Linked DNA regions of Homo sapiens: region 2 is linked to region 1. Evidence: promoter capture Hi-C in human tissues and cell types (Jung and others, 2019). All regions are on one chromosome and are shown on one strand. The core of a region is centred on a gene start or on the middle of the fragment in contact, and the rest is flanking DNA. Distances in the headings are between cores, read along the strand shown. Region 1 holds the start of MESP1 (mesoderm posterior bHLH transcription factor 1). Region 2 overlaps WDR93 (WD repeat domain 93).

The links. Contacts are between HindIII fragments. The study calls those that stand out against the background at their distance.
Region 2: a fragment that was not itself captured here is called in contact with the fragment with the promoter of MESP1 in region 1 in 2 of the 25 tissues and cell types used here (ovary and small bowel).

What each region holds. Positions count from the first base shown.
Region 1 is chr15:89,749,989-89,752,688 of GRCh38, forward strand. MESP1 (mesoderm posterior bHLH transcription factor 1) reads right to left here and starts at 1,261. Exons shown (of 2, transcript NM_018670.4): 1 at 521-1,261; 2 at 1-239. The coding sequence starts at 1,243. The coding sequence ends at 156. It also overlaps the pseudogene MRPL15P1. RefSeq lists silencers at 532-821, 882-1,311. The HindIII fragment of the contact is 13,666 bases long and covers 1-2,700 here.
Region 2 is chr15:89,708,382-89,711,081 of GRCh38, forward strand. All of the region lies in intron 4 of WDR93 (WD repeat domain 93), which reads left to right. Among named protein-coding and RNA genes, the nearest start is that of WDR93, 19 kb to the left of the region's middle. The HindIII fragment of the contact is 4,089 bases long and covers 1-2,700 here.

The sequences.
Region 1 (2,700 bases), core at 11-2,510:
GCCGCCGCGGTGGGGACGGCTCTCACCCGCAGGAATGCCCCCGTCGGGATCGCCCGTGCCCTCTTCCAGGAAAGGCAGTCTGCCAAGGAACCACTTCGAAGGTGCTGAGGCCAAAAAGCCTCGGTGCTCACAGAGACGGCGTCAGTTGTCCCTTGTCACTTGGGCTCCTCAGGCAGCCACTCCAGAGGCGAGAGGGGCATCCAGGTCTCCAACAGAGCCAGCACGTCGCCCGGAAGGAGCTGTAGGGAGAGACGGAACAGCGCAGCCCTCAAGCACTGGTGGCCTTGTGCGGGTGTCCGCGCTCGTGGGCTCCACTCTCAGGGGGCCCCTAGCGAGGGGAGACCCAGTCCTCTGCGTGGCCTTTCCCTGCCTTCGCTTCTTGGAGCCCTGGGCATACTATGGTGGCCAGGTGGCCAGGCTGCCGGCGGGGAGCAGCAGGGTGCCTGGTCCTCACCTTGGCGGGCGGTGGGGCTGTGCGCGGGGGCACGGACGAAGGGGGCGCGGGGAAGGGGACACTAACCGGGGACGGTGGGCTTGGCTCCATCGCCTGCCCTTCAGGGCACGCCGCCTCGGCGAACAGCGCAGGCGGGTCGCGCGGCTCGGGTGCAGCTCGGGCTCCGGGGCAGGCAGGCGGGGATCCCCAGGACGCCCCGGCGCGGACGGCGGATACCAGGCCCAGCCCGCGCCCCTGCCCCTGCCCCTCAGCCTGCGTCCGTGTCTGCATCTGCGCGGGGCAGTCGTCGGGGCACAGCGGGCAGCCCCGAGGGGACCCCGCGTCACCGCGCTGCCGGCACCGGCGCTGGAGACTCTCCTCGCTGAGGCCTAGCACGGCCGACAGGTGGCCGATATAGCGGATAGCCAGGCGCAGCGTCTCGATCTTGGTCAGGCTCTGGCCCGCGGGCGCCACGGACGGCGGTAGAAAGCGGCGCAGCTCGTGCAGGGCGCGGGCCAGCGTGCGCATGCGCAGTTTCTCCCGCTCACTGGCGCTCTGCCTCTGCCCGCTGCCCAGGCGGCTGCTGCGCGCGCCGCGCCTACCTACGGAGGGGGCGCGGGGGTCCCGGAGGGTGCCTGGCCGCGCGGGGCTCGCCACGGGGCTGTCGGCTGGGGTGCTGCCCCATGAGTCTGGGGACGAGACGAGGGAGCGGCCGCAGTCCTTGTCGGAGGGCGGCGGCCGCCGAGTTGGGCCCCAGGCCGCAGAGAGCATCCAGGACTCGGAGAGCGGCGGGCACAGGGGCTGGGCCATGGCAGCGGCGGCGCGTCTGGGGGCCGGCGGCCGGCGGCCGCTTTATGCCGAGCCCGAGGTGTGAAGTGGCCCCTTCCAGGCCGCATCAGCACATCAAAGTGGGCTCGGGGCTTGGAGGGGGCGGAGCCTGACCCTTTGAATCCACGGCGGGGGGCCAAGGTGCCAGCCCCTTGACTGCGCCTGTTTCGCCCCACCTGGGCCCTCGCTTGGGCGCCCGACCCAGCCTCTCGGCCTTCCCGCCTGCGCCCAGTGTTGGGTGAAGCCCGGGGCGTTGGGCCAGCCCTGCAGGTTAAAGGAAGCGGGGTCAGAAAAACGAAATCTAGATCCTAGGTTTGGGGCCTGCCTTCACCTGTTGGGGACCTTATGCAAATTCTTAGTTCTTTTGCACCTTAGCTTCCAATTTGTATAATGAGAGCCTCAGGGCATGCGCCAATTGGACAGTGGAGTAGAGTAAGGACCAGGAGCAGGGACCCTCATTCCCTCTAAAGGTGGAGAAAACAGTAAACCACTTCTCCTTTGAGGCAGGATGGCCCTGGGTAGACCCTTCCCTGGTAAGAACATGTGGACAGTGCAAGGAAGCTTGCACCCCGGCAAATTCAATAAGCTGCCGAGTCTGGTCAGGATGCTGGACCTTCTGAGCAGAGGGAGGGGGTTAAGCCTGCTCCAACCCCAGGCCACCTCTAGCCTGGCAAGGTCTGGAGCTTGGCCTGTTGCCACAGCTGTCACCACTGGCCTTTACCTGATGTTCTGCCGCTATTGGACAGGTATAACAGGTTTTCCCAATGAAATGTGAGTGGAAATGACGCAGCAAAGGCATTTGACAAAATCCAACACCCTTCGTGATGAAAATTCTCAGCAAACTAAGAATAGAGAGGAATTTCATCAACCTGATGAAAGGCTCCTACAAAGAACCTACAGGTAGCCTCATACTGAGTAGTGAAAGACTGAAATCTTCCCCCCACCCCCCGATTGCAGGAACAAAGCGAGGGTGTCTCTCTTACCACTCCTATTCAACATTGTACCAGATGGAGGATCTAGGCTATGCAATTAGGAAACAAAAGACATACAGGTCAGAAAGGAAGAAATAAAACTCTTTTCGCAGGTTATGGCAGCTCTGGGCCCTGCTGCGCATGAGCCTGACCAATTTAAAGCGGAATCCTGGCTCCAGGAAACCCATGAGACGACCAAAAGGTCGGAGAAGAGGTAGAAAATGCGGCAGAGGCCATAAAAGAGAAAGGCAGAGAGGAAACTGGCTCTGCTGGGCTTTGGGGATGGCCAGACTCTATTTTACATCGGAATCCCAAAATACAGATTTAATGAAGGACTTAGCTTCAGACACCAGTATCAACCTTTAAGTATCAATAGACTGTAATATGTTACTGATTTGGGTCGTGTTGATCCTACTCAACCTATTGACTTAACCCAGCTTGTCAATGGAAGAGGTGTGACCATTCAGC
Region 2 (2,700 bases), core at 69-2,568, 42 kb before region 1:
CCACCCGTCCTAGTGACAGTCACACCCTGGAGGAGCTACAGTTGTCGCAGCTGGCTCTAGTCACCATCACCACTACCCTGAGCAAGGAGGCTGAGACCCAGCAGCTGCCAGTCCTCAGCAGTGCCCACATCTGCACCATAAGAAGTGGTTGCTAGGGTGGCTAGGACAAGAGCGTCATTGCAATGAAAATTTCGGAAACAGATGATTCAATGTCAGGAATGGCTATGTTTTCATCCACAGAAAGGACATCAAGGAGGTGTATTTGGACACAGACAGTCATAAAAGAATAACCCCAGGAAGTGCTTTCCCAGTGTAGTAGATGGAGTTTGAGGTTATTGAAGGGTATGGAGGTCGCAAATGTTACAGGCCCTAATTGCATTCCTATGCAAGGCAAGTAGATCTGCAGCAGACTAACCATTATGAATGCTGTCCGCATTGTAGGGCCAGTCCTCCACTCACTCACCAGCCGAATTATCAGAACAGTGAGAGTGGGGAAATGACCAAAGGTCAGAGAGTGTTCCTGAAGGCCAGGCTCAACAGCTGGCCCAGGCATGGGCTTCTAGCCTGTGGCGACCCTGTGGGTACCCACATTATTGTGGTGCACCACTATTGTGGCTGTGACGGCCAGGTGCCCACACTATTGCAGCCGTCCGGTGCAGGGAGAAGTGATGGAGGTACTGATAACCAGGGTGCAGGAGAACAAGGTGGACCAGTGACACAATCCTACACCACAATTCTCCAGGGCCCCTTCTCACCAAAGACAGAGAGGTCAGCAATGAAGAGGAAAAGGAAAATCAAGATGAGACACAAGGTCAACAACTGCAACTTCAGTTACAGATGTAGATGTCCAGAAAATCCTAAACCCCACTGTGGCAGAGACAAAAGCAAGGGATCCACCAGCTGAGAATGCCTTGGATCCTGAGGCTGGGCAGGGTGGGGGTGATTTATTTATTTATTTTTTGCCTGTTAACCAGATAACTAGAACTAATTGCATTATCAGTGCAGCATCTGGTTTTTAAAAAGCCAAACTGCAAACTGCTAATAAAGGCCTTAAATAATAATAAATATAATAAGAAAATGTAAAAACAAGCCAAAGACTGGGAGAAAATACCTGTTTTATATATATATACTTTATATATATTTATATATCCTTCAAAGTATTTGTATCCAGAATATATAAAGAACTCCAAATCAGTAATAAAAAGACAACCCAATAAAAAATAGGCAAAAGACTTAAACTGACATTTACAAAAGGAGACAGTGTTTCGCCATGTTGCCCAGACTGGTCTTGAACTCCTGGACCCAAGCAGTCTTCCCACCTTGGCCTCCCAAAGTGCTGAGATTACAGGTGAGGTAGTTTCTTACAAAGTTAAACCTATGATACATCAAGCCCATTTTTAGGTATTTACCCAAAAGAAATGAAAACATTTGTTCACAAAAAGATTTGTACAAGATGTTCATAGCAGCTGTATTTGTAATAAAAAAAAAAATAATCAAGGCCGGGTACAGTGGCTCCTGCCTGTAATCCCAGTACTGTGGGAGGCTGAGGCGGGCGGATCACGAGGTCAGTAGAACAAGACCATCCTGGCTAACACGGTGAAACCCCGTCTCTACTAAAAATACAAAAAATTAGCCGGGTGTGCTGGCACGCGCCTGTAGTCCCAGCTACTTGGGAGGCTGAGGCAGGAGAATTGCTTGAACCCAGGAGGCGGAGATTGCAGTGAGCTGAGATCGCACCACTGCACTCCAGCTTGGACGACAGAGTGAGACTCCGTCTCAAAACAAAAACAAAAACGAAAACAAAAAAACATAATCAGAGAACAAATAAAAATTTGTGGTAGACTAAGTCAATGGAACACTAATCGGCAATAATAAATAATAAACAACTGATGATTACAACGCAGCAGATGAAACTCAAAAACATCAAGTTGAATGACAGAAGCCAGACACAAAAGAGTAGGTTCTAATTATGAAATTATATGAAACTTAAGAACAGGCGAAATTTATCTGTGTTAGCGATGGAAAGCAGAACATTGGTTGCATATGGAAGTGTAGTTGGCTCAAACAGGCATACGGTAACTTTCTAGGATAATGGTAACGTCCTATACCTTGACAGGGTGTTAGTTACAGGGACGTATAAGTTTGTCAAAACTCATCAAGTTATGCATTTAATACCTGTGCCTTTACCTATATTTAAATTTTATCTTTAAATAAACTCTCCTAAGAAAAAAAAAATACTGGGAATGTCCCGCAACTCATTTTATGAGACCAGCATAACTATGATATTCAAATTATCAGGGATGTTACAAAAAAAGTACTGTTGGTGGATTAAAACACATAAAAATATTTAAAATCCATTAATTCATGATAATATATTTTAAATACTTTATTGTCACAACTTTGGAAGTTGTGAGGGAAGTTTCAGAAACTCAGTATTCTGAAAACTGATAAGGGAAAGAATCAAGCTTTTATTCTGACTTTTTCATATGGGCAACCAATTTCAAGGCAACAAAATGGTTGATGATGGAAAGATCTTCCTTATAGAAGAATTCTAATAAATGCAGAAGGAATGATAGAACTGAGGTATCCTACTTTTGTTGCCTATTACAAAGAATGGTCTAGGCAATAACCACCAATGGCTGATGGGGAAGTTTGTAATAAAGGAGTCAGGATGATAACTGTTCTCAACTGTCAACCTTA